5 separate regions of the Homo sapiens genome follow, and regions 1, 2, 3 and 4 are each linked to region 5. Evidence: promoter capture Hi-C in 16 types of primary human blood cells and fetal thymus (Javierre and others, 2016). All regions are on one chromosome and are shown on one strand. Each heading gives the region's core, a stretch centred on a gene start or on the middle of the fragment in contact. The rest is flanking DNA. Distances are from core to core; before and after follow the strand shown. Region 1 holds the start of CYB5B (cytochrome b5 type B). Region 2 overlaps TERF2 (telomeric repeat binding factor 2). Region 3 has its middle 19 kb from the start of TERF2. Region 4 holds the start of TERF2 (telomeric repeat binding factor 2). Region 5 holds the start of NOB1 (NIN1 (RPN12) binding protein 1 homolog).

Evidence for each region. The method cuts DNA at HindIII sites, captures the fragments that hold promoters and counts their contacts. A CHiCAGO score of 5 or more calls a contact.
Region 1: the fragment with the promoter of CYB5B here is called in contact with the fragment with the promoter of NOB1 in region 5 in 2 of 17 cell types (neutrophils and activated CD4 T cells); the score reaches 7.2 in neutrophils.
Region 2: a contact is called between a fragment that was not itself captured here and the fragment with the promoter of NOB1 in region 5, in 2 of 17 cell types (endothelial precursors and activated CD4 T cells). The highest score is 6.5, in endothelial precursors.
Region 3: a contact is called between a fragment that was not itself captured here and the fragment with the promoter of NOB1 in region 5, in 8 of 17 cell types (neutrophils, activated CD4 T cells, endothelial precursors and 5 more). The highest score is 11.4, in neutrophils.
Region 4: the fragment with the promoter of TERF2 here is called in contact with the fragment with the promoter of NOB1 in region 5 in 13 of 17 cell types (neutrophils, endothelial precursors, megakaryocytes and 10 more); the score reaches 13.9 in neutrophils.

Annotation. Positions count from the first base shown.
Region 1 is chr16:69,422,616-69,426,081 of GRCh38, reverse strand. It overlaps CYB5B (cytochrome b5 type B), which reads right to left and starts at 1,463. Exons shown (of 5, transcript NM_030579.3): 1 at 1,225-1,463. The coding sequence starts at 1,398. RefSeq lists enhancers at 1,085-1,632, 1,633-2,180. The HindIII fragment of the contact is 7,938 bases long and covers 382-3,466 here.
Region 2 is chr16:69,365,609-69,369,369 of GRCh38, reverse strand. TERF2 (telomeric repeat binding factor 2) reads left to right here. Exons shown (of 10, transcript NM_005652.5): 6 at 888-994; 7 at 2,171-2,563. Among named protein-coding and RNA genes, the nearest start is that of TMED6, 16 kb to the right of the region's middle. The HindIII fragment of the contact is 725 bases long and covers 1,364-2,088 here.
Region 3 is chr16:69,403,188-69,406,522 of GRCh38, reverse strand. No RefSeq gene overlaps it. Among named protein-coding and RNA genes, the nearest start is that of TERF2, 19 kb to the right of the region's middle. The HindIII fragment of the contact is 499 bases long and covers 1,685-2,183 here.
Region 4 is chr16:69,383,814-69,387,563 of GRCh38, reverse strand. TERF2 (telomeric repeat binding factor 2) reads left to right here and starts at 1,557. Exons shown (of 10, transcript NM_005652.5): 1 at 1,557-1,971; 2 at 2,078-2,173; 3 at 2,854-2,984. The coding sequence starts at 1,593. RefSeq lists a silencer at 1,562-1,941. The HindIII fragment of the contact is 13,848 bases long and covers 1-3,750 here.
Region 5 is chr16:69,753,321-69,756,936 of GRCh38, reverse strand. It overlaps NOB1 (NIN1 (RPN12) binding protein 1 homolog), which reads left to right and starts at 2,011. Exons shown (of 9, transcript NM_014062.3): 1 at 2,011-2,089; 2 at 2,211-2,343. The coding sequence starts at 2,027. It also overlaps the pseudogene NONOP1. RefSeq lists enhancers at 1,719-2,341, 2,342-2,965. The HindIII fragment of the contact is 2,537 bases long and covers 873-3,409 here.

The DNA of each region.
Region 1 (3,466 bases), core at 214-2,713, 330 kb after region 5:
ATACAAATGCAAGAAGTTAGTAAATTCTGAGTTTGTTAAATTATTGTTCACTATTAAGATTTATTAAAAATAATGTTCTTTGGGGGAAACTTTTAAATTTTAAAAGTTTTTAGAATTAAAAGTCAGGATGCAGAGATTTCTCTTTTAGGCCCCAAATTAATCGAAAAAATATTTCACTAGTATATTTGCTTCAGAGAAATAGAAGTGAACTTTCACAAGTCATTAATCTATTGCTCAAAATAAAATGATCACACACAAACCGAAAATCAAAGCTTCAAACATACACACACCGAAAATCAAAGCTTCAAACCAATCTTTAGCGGCTGCATATCACTAGTTGCCTGGGGTTGGGAGAGAATGACTGCAAAGGGAAAGGAAGCTTTTTAGAATGATGGAAATGGTTTATGTCTTAACATGGATGAATACATTTTTCAAAACTCATCAAAATGTACATTTTAGATAGGCACAATTTACGTATGTACATTACACCTCAATAAAGTTTTAAATATTTAGAAGTCTATCCTGTTTCCTTAAAAAAAAAATTAGTTGCACCATGGTCTCAAAAATAATTTTTAAAATGAGATGTAATGCAACAGACTTGAAGATTAAATAAAACAGTCTTGAATATTTAAGAAAAATGACAAAACATGAGTCAAAAACAAAAAAAAAGGGTTGATTTATGAGTTTCTGGCCTCAAGGTCAACTCAGATTAGGGGGAAAAAAAAACAGTGGAGGCATAATCAAGATGGGGAAGCGTGTGGAGAGAAATCTCAGCTTCTACTCTAGAAGACGAAAACCAAAACCGGTATTACTTCAGAAGGCACACTGGAAAAGCACAGATGTGGGTGCACTTCAGACCTAGGTTCAACGGATCTAAGCTGCTAACTCTATGGCCCTGAGAGTCCTCAACCTGTGAGCCTCAGTTTCCCTTTCTGTAAAATAAAGATAATGATGGCTTAGAGTTTAGCTGAGCACACAGCAAATGCTCGACACATAAGTAATACATGATATTACATAAGGCACCAGAACTCGGAGCTGACTGGAAATGCATGCAAACTAAAGCCCTCCCCCAATCCCACCCCAGTTTCCCTCTGAGGGTCGTGATCCCTTTCTTACGCCTTATCGCCCCCAGCCAAGCCTCCCTTCCTTCCCACATACACTCCACACAGCCTTTTCACCCCTCGCCCCAGCAGCTTCAGAGGCCTCCCACCTCCCAGGCCCCACCTCGTTGAGGAAGCGGGTGACATCGTAGACTCGCCCATGGATCACAAGCCACAGTTCCTTCAAGGAGTTGCGCTTTGCCACCTCCTCCAACCGGTAATAGGTGACTGAGGTCTCGACTTCCTGCCCTTTCCCATCGCTGCCGCTAGCTTCCGCAGTCGCCATTGAACCGGACATACTGCCTCTCCACCGCTAACTGAGATTCCGCGACTACTTTCCTTGAGAGCCCGCGCTCAGCCTTCCTCGGCTTCCGTAACCAGGGCCCATAAGGCCTTGAGACGGTTCCTAGCAACAGCCAATCACACTTCCGAATAGTTCCTGGTTCGTTTTCTTTTCACCAATGAAGGGAGTGGCTCAGTTCGAAATCCCGCCCACTCCTCGCCCGATCCTCCAGATGAAAGTCTGGTTCGAGGTCCAACTAACCAATTAGGGTCGTTCAGCCCCCTCCAACCTCGCCAATCAGATACCGCGATTTTTGGACTGGCGCCCAAAAGAGGCGTGCTGACAGGTGTCACTTCAGGAGAGGTACCACTTCTCTCAGCCTGTGGGCCTTTAGGGTCTCCAGTGTTCTGCTTCCCTTCCCATCGCTGTGGCTTTCTCCTGAGTCTCAGAAAGTTCCTATCCCCTACACTACCGGCGCAGCCTGTATCCCAACCCTGATTTTACATCTTTGCTGCCTCCAGGTCGTGATCTGGCCAATCCCGTCTCTCCTCAATTTCCCCATCAGTAAAATGGGCTTGATAAAGCACTCTCTTACAGAGGGGTTTGCCTTTTTTTTTTTTTTTTTTTTTTTTGAGACAAGTTCTCGCTCTGTCTCCTAGGCCAGAGTGCAGTGGCACGATCTCGGCTTACTGCAAACTCCGCCTCCCAGGTTCAAGCGATTCTCCTACCTCAGCCTCTCGACTAGCTGGAACTACAGGCATGCGCCACCACGCCCGGCTAATTTTTGTATTTTTAGTAGAGAGTAGGTTTCACCATGTTGGCCAGGCTGGTCTCGAACTCCTGACCTCAGGTGATCCGCCTGCGTAGGCCTCCCAAAGTGCTGGGATTACAGGCGTGAGCCACCGCGCCTGGCCCGGTTTGCCTATTTTAATGAGAGTGCCTGTAAAGCGCTTGGCGCATAGTAATCGCTAAACATGGCAGTCGATTAGAAAGGCAATTGCTGTCCCGGACAGCAATTGGGGGTAGAATGTGGAGTATCCTATGTTTCTACCATCATTCAGAATCCGATTTTCAAACGAATTCTGTGATGATCAGGATCAATCGGCACTATTTTAGTCTCTACGTGATCTAAAATAGAATTGAACTCAACTGCTCTCCGCTAGAGGTCCCAGCACTTTGGAATTCCAAGTTTGGTTAAGGTACAGTGTTGTGCGCCACTTTTTAACTGCCATTACAACTGACAGATTGCTCTTCCTATGATGTCGTCGTTTTCATCCTGTCACTCTCGCAGTCTACCATTCAGGGCTCTCCACAATCCATTCGCAACCTCTTTCACTAACGTATAATATTTTCCACCATTCCCTTTATAAGCCTGTTGCACCCGCCCCGACTCTGAAACCTGCTGGTTTAAAACCACATCCGTGGTCATCCCAGGTCCACCAAGTTAATTTTAGATCACTTAGAGACTAAAATAGTGCAGATTGATCCTGATCATCACAGAATTCATTTGAAAATCGGATTCTGAATGGTGGTAGAAACATGGGATACTCCACATTCTACCCTCAATTGCTGTCCCAAGGACTCCTCTTCCTTTCAATGCCTACCGGCTTTTCAAGTTCCTCTTCAGTTTCTTCTATTTTCAAACTTCTCCTACCGTTTTGAGCTCCAGTGCTTCCATCCCTTTGTAGTACCTAAGAAAGCATATTACTATTTTGGGAAGCCTGCTACGTCTGTAAATTTTAACTTTACGTATTTTACCTCCCTAGTTAGACTGACACTATGAGAGCAATCTCACAAGATTCTTAGGATCCTCCACAAACTCTAGATTCAAATATTTACATTTATTCCAGACATTTACTATTTACTGTTACAAGTCTTATGATAGGCATTGGGAGTAGAGAGATAACATAAGAAACAAAATCTCTGAAAGAAATAAAAACATTTACAGGCTGAATGTGGTGGCTCAAGCCCCGTAATTCCAGCACTTTGGGAGGCCGAGGTGGACAGATCACTTGAGCCCAGGAGTTCAAGACCAGGCTGGGCAACATAGTGAGGCTCTTGTCTCTTCAAAAAATACAAAAAT
Region 2 (3,761 bases), core at 477-2,976, 390 kb after region 5:
ACTGCACTTCAGCCTGGGCAAAAGAAACCAGGACTTTGAGAATGTGGAAAATATTCTGTCTCGTAACAGATCTGCCAGGCCCATATTAGGATAGTGTCCATGATCTTAGCAGTCGTTTGGCAAATCTCAGATTATTTATAAGCAGGTAGTTTGGGATATTCAGGCAGCAGGTGTCAAGATAGTTGAGCCTGGCCTAGGGTCCTTTCCTTTCCATTCCAGGTAACTGGAAACTATCCTTATCTATATAACACAAAGAGCCCTGATTAGCCTACTCAGGGCTCTTTGTGTTATATAGATAAGGATTCTCAAACAGTTGTTAATAAGGCAAAACATTTGTAGAAACAGTTATAAAAATTCTATACACAAACTGGAAGATATTAGTATGAACATTTATTGCCGGGCATGGTGGCTCATGCCTGTAATCCCAGCACTATGGGAGGCTGATGCGGGCAGATCACTTGAGGTCAGGAGTTCGAGGCCAGCCTGGCCAACATGGTGAAACCCCGTCTCTACTAAAATACAAAAATTAACTGGACATGGTGGTGGGCGCCTGTAATCCCAGCTACTTGGGAGGCCGAGATGGGAGAATTGCTTGAACCCAGGAGGTGGAGATTGCAGTGAGCCGAGATTGCACCACTGTGCTGCAGCCTGGGCGACAGAGCAAGACTCCCTCTCAAAAAAAATGTATTAGTTATCTTAAGTTTGAATAAAAAAAGCTTGATTTATAAGTCTTACAAGTTCTCTCCCATTTTATGTCCTTCGTTTTATGCCTAGATTGGATTTGTAAGTGAACTTGTTTGCATATTGAGTATATTCTTGGTGAAAGAAGCAGAGAATTAATGCAATTCTGTGGCCTCTTCTTCCTGATGACATCCTTCCTTTCCCAGATGGCCAAAAAGGCTTTGAAATCTGAGTCCGCTGCCTCAAGTACAGGGAAGGAAGATAAACAGCCAGCACCAGGGCCTGTGGAAAAGCCACCCAGAGAACCCGCAAGGTAAAAAGATGCTCTCTTGTGATCTTGGGTAAAACACTAGGGTGGTCGCTGGAAGCAGTCTCCTCCTTAGGCCAGGATCAGTTCCTCTCAGCACTCCGACCTACTAACGTGTTACGAGGTTACTCATACAAGGCACTGGGGGAGACTGCACACCCTGGGAAGATAAGGAAACAGGATGCCTGGGGTCCCTGACAACTTCCTGACTGGCCATTCCTCAAAGGCTCTTTCACCATTTCTCTCTCCTTGCCTCCCCCGTATTGACTCAGTACTTTTCTTGTGGACACCTAATCTCTTAATACATTCAGGAAGCACTGCTCAGATCTGTGAGTCGAATCCCAAAACCAGTTCCTAAAGCAGGGGTCACAAGCTTAGATGCCCTTTGAGGGCCGGTTAGGAAACCTAAAGGAACAAAGTGGACCTAGGCTGAGAGCATGGGGCTGGGAACCAGGGGATGTGCTTTTCAGCTTCTTGTGGTTGTTGCTCTGTGGGAGTATCCAAGGATGCTCAGGCTTCAGGTGCTCAGATTTTTGTATGAGATGTCCAGGGTTTTCCATGAGATTTCCCAGTTTTTGGATGTTAACAGTTGATCCACTTAAAAAATTTTTTTTCATGTTGGTTAGACAACAAGACAGGCTGCCAGATGGATTTGGCCTGCAGGCTGCCAGTTTGCCCCCTCTCCTAACAGTTTTTCCCTAAAGCATACTAACTGTTCCAAATGATAGATGAACTTTATTTTTAAAAGGCAGTTTCTCATTGTTCCAAGACTGTGTGGCATGCCTTTTACTCTGAGAATTCTCAAGATCCTGCTCTTAAGTGTGTTGTAGGCCGGGTGTGGTGGATCACGCCTGTAATCCCAGCACTTTGGGAGGCCGAGGTGGGTGGATCGCTTGAGCCCAGGAGTTCTAGGATACAGTGAGCTGTGTTTGTGCCACTGTATCCTATCTCTCTGTCCTATCTACTGTCTAGGACAGACCCAGACCCTATCTCTAAAAATAAAATGAGAAGTAAAATAAAGGTTCTCTAACTTGGAGTTTTAAATTCATAATACAACTTACATATCACATTTAAAGCCTCCTCAACTGGAATTTGAAGCTTCAAACTTCAAAAAAGTTGTGGCTGTTTGGATGAGCATCATCAGTGGTGAAAAACATCTTTGTGCCTATGCTTGATTTGCAGGCAGCTACGGAATCCTCCAACCACCATTGGAATGATGACTCTGAAAGCAGCTTTCAAGACTCTGTCTGGTGCACAGGATTCTGAGGCAGCCTTTGCAAAACTGGACCAGAAGGATCTGGTTCTTCCTACTCAAGCTCTCCCAGCATCACCAGCCCTCAAAAACAAGAGACCCAGAAAAGATGAAAACGAAAGTTCAGCCCCGGCTGACGGTGAGGGTGGCTCGGAACTGCAGCCCAAGAACAAGCGCATGACAATAAGCAGATTGGTCTTGGAGGAGGACAGCCAGAGTACTGAGCCCAGCGCAGGCCTCAACTCCTCCCAGGAGGCCGCTTCAGCGCCACCATCCAAGCCCACCGTTCTCAACCAACCCCTCCCTGGAGAGAAGAATCCCAAGTATGAAGACCTTCTTTGTAGAAATTTTGGGGCTGGTTGGTGGTCCTGGTTGGGCCTGGTATTACTTCCGTGAATGAAGTAACTTTCAGCTAAGTTACTCACCACCAAGGCTTGCTCAGACTGCTAGAACTTGACGCAGGAGTGGCCAGTGACGACGTAGCCATCCCTGCCGGTTCTGAAGCCCCGCATGTGGGCTTCCAAGCCTTGCACTAGGGCATGAGTGGGAATGGAAAGGTTTCAGAGCCTCCTACTCATCGCTGCTTTCATTTTTAGCAAACATCTGAGTGTCTTGACTTCTAAACATTAGTCTTGTGTGTTAAAAGAAATTTGTTTGCATTGGGCCACATTATACTTTGACCCTTAAAAAGAGACTGATGAATATGTATAATTTTGCACCCTTCTGAGCATTTGAGACTTGGCAAGTTCAGTGAATACTTACTAATCTCCCATGTCCTGCTAGGTACTGTGGGGCAGTGGCTAGAATACTTTAATTTTGCTCCCCATTGTGATTCTCATCCTGGCTTTGAGTTTTGCTTCCCTTTGTGTCCTGTGGTGGATCCTCCCTCCAGGCAGACTGGCCTGCTTGCTCTCTGGAACATGTTGTTTGTTTCTACCACTGTACTTTTGCTTCCTCTCATTCCCCACAGTGGACCGTCATCCCTTCATCATTGCTTGTCCAAATCCCATTTGTCCTTTAAAGGGAAGAAAAGCCGTTGTTGATGAAGTGCTTTCTGGGGGCAGAGCACTTTCATGTATCATCTTACTGAGTCACTACAATCCTCACTCTGTGAGGTGATGATATATTAGCCCCATTACACAGAGGAGAAGGGCTCAGAAAAGTTCTTAGCTCACCTGAAGTCACACAGCTAAAAGTGGCAAAGATGGGCTTTGGATTTTTAATCCAAGTCAGTCTTGACAGAAAAGCCCATGGCCTGTATACCATATACAACAAGTTGCCTCTCTTACAATTCTCCTTCCTCAGGCTGGGTGCGCTGGCTCACACCTGTAATCCCAGCACTTTGGGAGGCTGAGGCAGGCAGATTACCTGAGGTCAGGAGTTTGAGAGCAGCCTGGCCAACATGGTGAAACTCCGTCTCTACTAAAAATACAAAAATTCGCCAGGCGTGGTGGTGGGCGCCTGTAGTCCCAGCTACTTGGGAAGCTGAGGCAGGAGAATTACTGGAACCCGGGAGGCGGA
Region 3 (3,335 bases), core at 685-3,184, 350 kb after region 5:
TGAGACAGGAGAATCACTTGAACCCGGGAGGTGGAGGTTGCCGTGAGCCGAGATCACACCATTGCACTCCAGCCTGGGCAACAAGAGCAAAAACTTTGTCTCAAAAAAAAAAAAAAAAACTAACCTGGAGAAAAAGTAAAGGTTAGACTCTCTGTAGATGTTTTTTTTTCTGCCAAGTAGAAAGAATCAGTCTGAAGAATGGAGCCCAACAAAGCAGAAATGTGTCTAATTAGTGAACACTTGAATCTAGTCATCAATGAAATCTGGTCTTCTGGTTACTTGAGCCACTAAATTCACCTTTGCTTTTGCCCAAGCTGCTGGAGGTAGGCTCCTGTTCTTTGGTATGTGCACACACAGAACTCGGCCTCCACTTTCCAGAAGTGCTAACTATGAGCCCAGACCTGCCTTGTATGTTAAGAGCCCCCTCTGTGAGCGGTGCCCATTATGAATTTGAAAAATGATCATCTATTCTAAAACATTCAAACACATCTTGCTGCTGCATTTGGGGCAGCAATACTTGCTTCTTCATGTTGGCACCGTTTCTGCCTGTCAGCAACTTGGAAACCATACTGAAAATACAGGCCGGAGGGCATGTAGCTTAAGAGAAAACAAGTCTCATGGGTGTGTTACAATGTAGGAAATGCTAGCGAAAGTGTCTACCAGAGGATAGAGAGGTTAAAGTTCGGCCACCCTCTTTTTCTTTATATATAATGGGTGAGAGTTGGAGGTGGGAAAGGGAGAAAGAGAATCCCACCCAAACCAAAGAGGATGTTTGGACAAGTTAATCTGCGGAAAGCTCTAGAAATTTGATGCAGGGTGATGAAAAAGCTGTGGCATGATAACATCTAGTGTTTGATTAAGCCTTTCCTCTAGGCTGGATGTCATACTTAGCACTTTACATACATTGTAGCAATTCTAGTGGGTACTATTGTTATTCCCATCTTACAGATGATGAAACTAACACTGAGAGGAGTTAGAAACTTGCCCAAGGGTCCTGCTGGTAGAGCCAGGATTTGACATCAGGGCATTCTGAACCCTATATTTGCTAACCACTATGCCCTTCCTTTCTAGCTAAAGACCTGGGTTTGAATCTAGCTCTGTTACTTGCTGGTTGAGTGACCTTGAGCAAATCAACCTCTTTGAGCCTGTTGCCTCATGTAGAAAATTCAGGGAGTAGGCCGGGCGTGGTGGCTCACACCTGTAATCCCAGCACTTGGGAGGCCGAGGCAGGCAGATCACAGGGTCAAGAGATCGAGACCATCCTGGCTAACCAACATGGTGAAACCCCATCTCTACTAAAAATACAAAAATTAGGTGGGCGCAGTGGTGCATGCCTGTAGTCCCAGCTACTCAGGAGGCTGAGGCAGGAGAATCACTTGAACCCGGGAGGCAGAGGTTGCAGTGAGCCAAGATCGAGCCACTGCACTCCAGCCCAGGCAACAGAGCAAGACTCTGTCTCAAAAAAAAAAAAAAAAAAGAAGAAGACAGAAAGAAAGAAGGAAGGAAGGAAGGAAGGGAAAATTCAGGGATTATACTAAATAATTTGTTTTCTCTCTTTCAACTCTAACATTTCAAAAATTATAATATCCCCAATCCCCCAAACTAGGATTTGTATTCCTGGCTTGAACTTTTTTCGCTCAAGACCCTATAGATTGGTTTTCCCATGGATTTCGGATCAAAAGCTTCCTTTGAATTATGTATTCCTTTGAAACGGATTCAAATGCAGGGGGATCTGAAAAGACTTCATCCTTGCTGAGTGAATCAGCATCCCGTGAACACAGGTGACAAGTTCTGACCCATCCCTTCACTGTCTGATAAGCCCAAAGGTCATGCTCTGGACTCAAACCTACTCTTCCTTCTTCCTGCCCATTTTGTGGGTTTTCTGATAAGGTGCCCTAAGGCAGCTGTAACACTGTTTTCTCTCCCTACAAACACAGTCCCCAGGGCGTGCACTCTGCCTGCAAACTTCCCAGCTGCTTCCAGCTCTCCCTCTGCCCACAGCCCTTTATTGCTGCATTCCAACAAATTAGCCATGTGACAGATTATTTTTAACTTCAATAGAGCAGCTCCCTCTCTTTTAATATATCATGCTTGGCCCACATTCCCTCGGTGAAAAGGGCACCATCGGCTACTTCTGAGAACTTTTAATTACTCCAATTGTTTGCAAAACTCTCTTAGAAGCTTGGGAAAAAAATATTGCAAGCTACAGTTCTGATTACAAGAAGAAAAGAAAATACATTTCTTTCTCCGTTCCTCTCCAGTCCCCTTACTCTCCAGTTTTCTTATTTAGTGGAGACCTGGGAATTTTCCAGGTCTTCTCAAATCCCCTCTACCCCCCTGCCACCCATTATCTAAGAGCAGGTTTTTTTAAGTATAAGTCCATCTCGAAAAAAGCTAAAGAAAAAAAGTAATAAAGTGCAAATCTAATTGGGAGGAAGGGAGGGCAGTTTCCTGAGTAACAGAGACCCCCACCCCGATCCCACACAGAACCCTAGCAGGTGAAGGATGGCAGCTCCCAAAGCACTGAATGCCCAGCCATCCTAGGTCTTGGAAGTCTCCAAGAGGGTCCTGGAGGTTGAGCTTGACACTGAGGTTGAACCTTCTATCTTGAAGTCAACTGCACGTAAACAATGAGCATCTCAGTAACCACCGCATGGGCCAAAGGCCCTTCTCCAAGTTTTCTGAACTTTCTAAATCCCAGATACTTCTCTAATTTCTTTTTCTTTCTTTCTTTTTTTTCTTTTCTTTTTTTTTTTTTTTTTTTTTTGAGATAGAGATGGAGTTTCGCTTTTTCGCCCAGGCTGGAGTGCAATGGCGCCATCTCAGCTCACTGCAACCTCTGCCTCCCGGGTTCAATCGATTCTCCTGCCTCAGCCTCCCGAGTAGCTGTGATTACAGGCGCCCACCATCACGCTCAGCTAATTTTTGTATTTTTAATAGAGACGAGGTTTCACTATGTTGGCCAGGCTGGTCTTGAACTCCTGACATCAGGTGATCCACCCACCTCGGCCCACAGGCATGAGCCACTGCACCTGGCCCATATAGTGTTCTATTGCTAATGTAAAATAAAAAAATAAAAGGAGGGGAGAAAATATAAATGTGTTATTTTATTTTTAAAATTTTTTTGGAGACAGAGTCTCATCCTGTCATCCAAGCTGGAGTGCACTGGCACGATCTCAACTCACTGCACTTTCCACCTCCCGGGTTCAAGAGATTCTCATGCTTCAGCCTCCCAAGTAGCTGGGACTACAGGCATGCGCCACCACACCTGGGTAATTTTTTGTATTTTAGTAGAGACGGAGTTTCACTACATTGGCCAGGCTGGTCTTGAACTC
Region 4 (3,750 bases), core at 308-2,807, 370 kb after region 5:
TACAGAGTGAAACTTTCTCAAAAAAACTAAAATAAAGGCAAGTGATTTGGTTCCTGGTTAAGGCAAGCAGGCTGGAATGGAAAAGCAGCCATGGGCCGGGCGCAGTGGCTCACGCCTGTAATCCCAGCACTTTGGGAGACCGAGGCGGGCGGATCACGAGGTCAGGAGATGGAGACCATCCTGGCTAACACAGTGAAACCCCGTCTCTACTAAAAATACAAAAAATTAGCTGGGCATGGTAGTGGGCGCCTGTAGTCCCAGCCACTCGGGAGGCTGAGGCAGGAGAATGGCATGAACCCAGAGGCGGAGCTTGCAGTGAGCCGAGATCGTGCCACTGCACTCCAGCTTGGGCGACAGAACGAGATTCCATCTCAAGAAAAACAAAGAAAAAAAAGAAAAGCAGCTATGATCACCAAAGATCAGTCAGACCTAGAGGCCTCTTCTCTCATCCCGGAACGTGTACCTCATAGAACTTTTGGCTTTCCAGGATACTATACATATTAAGGTCCTGATATTAATTCACAGGTCCAGCATGGGATTCACATCCTCAAGGACATGGCCACCTGCACTTCTGAGTTGTCTTTGAGTGGCCCCAAACTGGATCTTTGCAGGTTCCAGACTAGTGGGGCTGGTAGGACAATCTTTGAAGCTAGACCAGTTACTGGGCCTCTCAGGAAGAGGCACCCACAACCACCATCCTGAACTAAGGTCTGAGCTGGAGGTTCTCCATTTGGTCAAGTGCCAGTTGGTGAATTCCAAGAGTATCAGAGATATCTGAAAGTGACTCAGACCCTCTATGGGACTATGGGTGGTCCTTTTGCTTATTTTTCTAATTGTTCTACAACAAAATGTGTTATTTTTGTGATTACAAAGAGTATATGTCTAGCGGCTGGGTTGCCAGGTGCATTCTATTTATTGGTATCACACTGGTCTTTGCTTTATAATTACAGTATTTGTTAAAATACAAATTTGTTTAAAGACTTTCCTCTGTGTATGCTCTCTTCCACAATTTTCAAAGTGTTTAATAAGGTGCACATATTTGGTTTTCTTTTTTTTCTTTTCTTTTTTTTGAGACGGAGTTTCGCTCTTGTTGCCCAGACTGGAGTGCAATGGCGCGATCTCGGCTCACCGCAACCTCCGCCTCGCGGGTTCAAGCGAGTCTCCTGCCTCAGCCTCCTGAGTAGCTAGGATTACAGGCATGCGCCACCACGTCTGGCTAATTTTGTATTTTTAGTAGAGATGGGGTTTCTCCATGTTGGTCAGGCTGGTCTCGAACTCCCGACCTCAGGTGATCCACCCGCCTCAGCCTCCCAAAGTGCTGGGATTACAGGCGTAGAGCCACCGATCCCGGCCTGTTTTTCAGTCTCTAATACACTGTTCCGCGTCCCTAGCATAGTAGCTGTTTTCTGTAAATTCGGAGCGAAGTTGACTGCAAAACCCGCCGGGTTCACCGGCCTGGGCGGTGTGGACTTCAAGCCCCAGGAGGCATTGCGGCCGGCACATCGGGAACTACGGCGTCTGAGAAGGGGGCCGGGCCCTCCGGTCCTTTCCCTCCCAGAAGCCCGCGGGCGGCTCGGAACGCTGTTTCTATCATGGCCGCGGGAGCCGGGACGGCGGGCCCCGCTTCCGGCCCGGGCGTCGTGCGTGACCCAGCGGCGTCACAGCCGAGGAAGCGGCCCGGCCGGGAGGGCGGGGAGGGCGCGCGGCGATCGGACACGATGGCGGGAGGAGGCGGGAGTAGCGACGGCAGCGGGCGGGCAGCTGGCAGGCGGGCGTCCCGCAGTAGCGGGCGGGCCCGGCGGGGGCGCCACGAGCCGGGGCTGGGGGGCCCGGCGGAGCGCGGCGCGGGGGAGGCACGGCTGGAAGAGGCAGTCAATCGCTGGGTGCTCAAGTTCTACTTCCACGAGGCGCTGCGGGCCTTTCGGGGTAGCCGGTACGGGGACTTCAGACAGATCCGGGACATCATGCAGGGTGAGGGCCGGGCCGGGGGAGGGGGGTTGGAGCGCCGGGGAAGGGGGTCCGGGGGACCGGGAGTCGGGACTGGGGGTCGCCCAGCCAACGATGTCTTCTCTCCCAGCTTTGCTTGTCAGGCCCTTGGGGAAGGAGCACACCGTGTCCCGATTGCTGCGGGTTATGCAGTGTCTGTCGCGGATTGAAGAAGGGGAAAATTTAGGTATGGCTATTTTTGTGTTCTTCTCTGGGCTTACTTGCGTAGGGTTTTGTTTTAAAACTTATATCTAGAACTGAAGGATTCCAGGTTAAAGTGCGATAGTTTCCATCAGAGTGGTCTTTTTCATTCTACGATGGGTCTGTTTTCTGGCTCGACTGGCTCTAGTTTTCTCCGGTTAAGGTTGTCTTGGCTGCTTTTCTGTGTTTTTTTTAAATCTTCTCCCACCTGTTAATTGCTCACCCCAACTTTGCTCCTGTCTAAAGTGAGTTATGTTCATATGGACATCTTTTTTCCCCCATGGTAGAGAGTTTTTCAGAGTGGAAGTACTCTGACATTTTTCCCCTCTGAATTTAACTTGAAAGCTATTTAGCTGTTGTCAGTTTCTTGCCACTCGTATCTGAGGAGGATGGGTATATTCTGAATTTGAGAGGCAAATGCAGGTATTTAAAAATAATTTTTTTGCCTGTCTTGACAGGTGTTAAAAAATGGTCACGTTAAATTCATTGATTTGAATTTGGACCCTTATCGTGTATGTCAACCTGTAGCAAATATGTCAAAAAATTAAATGCAAATCTTACCATATTTGCATGCTCCATTTCCATAAATATATATATATAATTTTTGGACATAACTTTTTTACCCTTAGAAAAGAGCTTAAAAATGAAAACTGTGCTTTGTCCTAGACTGTTCCTTTGATATGGAGGCTGAGCTCACACCACTGGAATCAGCTATCAATGTGCTGGAGATGATTAAAACGGAATTTACACTGACAGAAGCAGTGGTCGAATCCAGTAGAAAACTGGTCAAGGAAGCTGTAAGGCTCTATTTTTATATCTTTTTTCTTTGACCAAAAATCAAGGGTCTTTGAGGATACAGCACTTACTCTTTACTGTGTGGGGCAGAGGAAAACAGCAATGGGGAGAGATTGAGCAAGCAAGAAAGCACACACACAGACGTTATTTCTTCAGGTGTCTCCTTTCCCACCCAGGCTTGGGAAGTAATGGCAGTTGCTCAGTTTTTGTGATTTGGGTGGTCTTCCTTGTGGCTTTGGCATTGAAGCTCTGACATTTTGGAGGTTACTGCACCATTCGGGAGCACTCTACAAGGGCCTTAAGTAACTCTGGCCTAGGGTTTGGTCACCCTTGTTTATAATAAACCAAGGAGATAAACTGGGGCCTTGGAAAATGTGGTACTGACTTTGAGTTCTTTCTGTCTGCAGAAAGAGGGGCTTAGAGAATATCCCTTTTGAACAGATAGATTAGAATCAGAGGTGCTGGGATAATGAGCCAGCTAGCAAAATAGTAATGGTAGAAGAATGATAGAAATCCGGCACAGGCAGTGTTCTTGAATTCAAGAAAAAAGCTAATGGAGTGTCTAGGAATTTGGGATTGTCACTGTGTTGTGGCTCAGGTAGCTTCAAACAGTAGAAATTATTTTAATTTAAAACATAGAAGTGGCTGTGGGAACCAGTTAGAAAAAGATTTTTCTTCCCCCAAAACCAAGGCTGGGGGGTGTGGAAGCAGATGCAGAGGTGAAGATGGAAAACATCAGCTAAGCATTGCCCTGGTGGTAGAAAATAG
Region 5 (3,616 bases), core at 762-3,261:
CAACTGGAGCTCAGGCAGGAGGAAGAGCGCAGGCGCCCTGAAGAAGAGATGCGGCGGCAGCAAGAAGAAATGATGCAGCCACAGCAGGAAGGATTCAAGGGAACCTTCCCTGATGTGAGAGAGCAGGAGATTTGGATGGGTCAGATGGCTATGGGAGGTGCTATGGGCATAAACAGCAGAGGTGCCTTGACCCCTGCTCCTGTGCCAGCTGGTACCCCAGCTCCTCCAGGACCTGCCACTATGATGCCGGATGGAACTTTGGGATTGACCCCACCAACAACTGAACGCTTTGGTCAGGCTGCTACAATGGAAGGAATTGGGGCAATTGGTGAAACTCCTCCTGCATTCAACCATGCAGCTCCTGGAGCTGAATTTGCTCCAAACAAACGTCGCCGATACTAATAAGTTGCAGTGTCTAGTTTCTCAAAACCCTTAAAAGAAGGACCCTTTTTGGACCAGCCAGAATTCTACCCTGGAAAAGTGTTAGGGATTCCTTCCAATAGTTAGATCTACCCTGCCTGTACTACTCTAGGGAGTATGCTGGAGGCAGAGGACAAGGGAGGGGTGGTATTAAACAAGTCAATTCTATGTAGTATATTATTTAATCAGTTCTGTGTGGTGCATTCCTGAAGTCTCAAATGTGATTGTTGAGGGCCTGGGGAAACCATGGCAAAGTAGATCCAGTTAGAGCCCATTAATCTTGATCATTCTGTTTTTTTGGTTTGTTTGTTGTTTTTTTTTTTTTTTTTTTTTGTCCATCTTGTTTCATTTGCTTGCCCTGCCCCCGAGATGGAGTCTTACTCTGTCGCCCAGGCTGGAGTGTAGTGGCACGATCTCGGCTCACTGCAATCTCTGCCTCTCGGGTTCAAGCTTGTCCAGGCTGATCTTGAACTCCTGACCTCGTGATCCCCTGCCTCAGCCTCCCAAAATGCTGGGATTACAGGGGTGAGCCACCGTGCCCAACCTCACTTGCTTTCTTATCCTTACACTCCCCCAGTCCCAGAGAAACTGCCACATACACCACAAAAACCAAACATCCCCCAATGACCTTAGCCGCATTGCTCCATTCACTCCCAGGTGAGAATTCAGGTAAACGTCCACAAAGGTCACAGGCAACGTACATACGGTTCTATTATATCCCATATATTACCCCTTCATGTCCTAAAGAAGACATTTTCTCTTAGAGATTTTCATTTTAGTATATCTTTAAAAAAAAATCTTGTGTTAACTTGCCTCCATCTTTTTCTTGGGTGAGGACACCCAGGAATGACCCTTTTGTGTCTATGATACTGCTGTTCACAGCTTTTCTTGATAGGCCTAGTACAATCTTGGGAACAGGGTTACTGTATACTGAAGGTCTGACAGTAGCTCTTAGACTCGCCTATCTTAGGTAGTCATGCTGTGCCTTTTTTTTCCATTGGTGTATTGTATTTGATTTGTCTCTGATATATTTGGAGTTTTTCTGAGAACTGGAGCAGTAATGCAGCATCGACCTATTAAAATACATTTTAAGCCTTTAAAAAAAAACAGTACCTATCTCATAGGGGTGCTGTGATAACGAAATTAGGTAATCTGTATTGATTGACTTTTAACCATAAGAATATATACAGGTTTTAAATTTATTTATTTATTGAAGAGATGGGGGTCTCTCTATGTTGCCCAGGCTGGTTTCACATTCCAGGGCTCAGGCAATCCTTTCGCCTCAGCCTCCTTAATAGCTGGGACTCTAGGCGCGCACCACTACACCTGGCAGGTTTTATCTTCAAAGGTGAAGAAGGCACTAAGGTCTAGATGCTGAAGCCGATTTCCCAGGTGTCCCCCAAGGTTTGACCCCGCCCACACTTCTCTGGCTATGCGGGCGGCGTCGCTGCGCATGCGCGCGAGTAGAGCAGGGAGGTGCTGGCGCGGCCGCCAGGAGGCGCAGCTAAGTCGCGGCTGCTCTTCCTGGTTCCCAGAGGCCCAGACTTGGACATAGGAGCCGGCGCAAGCTCCGTGCGCATGCGCGCTCCCCTCTCACGCAGCCAACATGGCTCCAGTGGAGCACGTTGTGGCGGATGCTGGGGCTTTCCTGCGGCATGCGGCTCTGCAGGTACGGGGAGCTCCCTCCGGGACGAGAGAGATCTGGGCTGGCCGCCCCTCCCGGAGTGCGTGGAGTCGCGCGGAGCGTTGCTTGGTGCGGGTGGGTCTGAGCTGGGGCGTTCTGTCCGCAGGACATCGGGAAGAACATTTACACCATCCGGGAGGTGGTCACTGAGATTCGGGACAAGGCCACACGCAGGCGGCTCGCTGTCCTGCCCTACGAGCTGCGGTTCAAGGAGCCCTTACCGGAATACGTGCGGCTGGGTGAGTGCCTCTGCCCTAGCGTTGACGGGAAGCTGGGGTCCAGGGCGCAGATGGCACCCAGTTGGGTGCGAGTTGGGGTCTAGCTGCCTTATCAGAGCAGTAGATTTAGAGCCAGCACTTTCTAGGAGATTGTGGTAGGAGAGAGGCTTCCTGGGTCTGGAGTCCTCCAGTAACTAGCTGTATGCTCTCGGGCATAGCATTCAAATTTGGGCCTCGTTTACCTCATCCGCAAAATGGGAATAATAATTGTATCTGTCTCCAAGGTTGCTGTGAGCATGAACTGAGGAATATGGCAGTCAGCTCAGTGTCAAGCACTTTGCAGACAAGCAATAAATTTATTTGGATTTAAAATAAGAGTTTGGATCTCTTGCTATTACTCTCGTCCATTTCTTTTCAGTAGATTGGGCTGATGACTGGATACAAAGATCTGCACCTGGCAGAGCTTTAAAAAGGGAATGCTTTGCATTGTATTAAATGTGAAAGAAAATTAAGCTGGGCGCGGTGGCTTACGGCCTGTAATCCCAGCACTGGGAGACCGAGGCGGGCGCATCACCTGAGGTCAGGAGTTTGAGACCAGCCTGACCAACATGGTGAAACCCTGCCTCTACTAAAAATACAAAATTAGCTGGGCGTGGTGGTGTGCTCCTGTAATCCCAGCTACTTGGGAGGCTGAGGCAGGAGAATTGCTTGAACCTGGAGGTGGAGGTTGCAGTGAGCCGAGATCGTACCACTGCACTCCAGCCTGGGCGACAGAGCGAGACTCTGTCTCAAAAAAAATAAGAAATAAAGAAAATTAAAGAATTGTCTCTTGGCTTAGGAGTCAGCGTTGTTCTCTTGTTGGGAATCAAGGTGATACCCAGGAAAGGCCCCTCAGTGGTTGGAAGTGTTTTAGAGGTTAGAGGCTGATAGTGGAGATGATGTTACCTCCTCTGTTTGTGATTTCTACGATTTTCTCCACCAACTTAGTAGCTCTGTGATCTTTGCCAACTTACTAAATCTTTCCGAGGAAATACTAATAGTACTTTTGAAGAATGGCAAAGGATGAAATGCATTAACACATAAAGCTTTTAATGCAGTGCCTAGTACACAGTAAGTGCACAGTAAATTTTCGTTGCTGCTAATGTCTGTTTTTTAGGAAATAAGAGCAATATACCTAGTGTTCCTTGTACCAGGGTAGCAGGAGACATCTTTCTGTTAATTTCAGGAAATTTTAAGTGTTTATTATGGATGACTCTGGAGAATAACAGCAGTCTGACATGTATTATGCATTAAG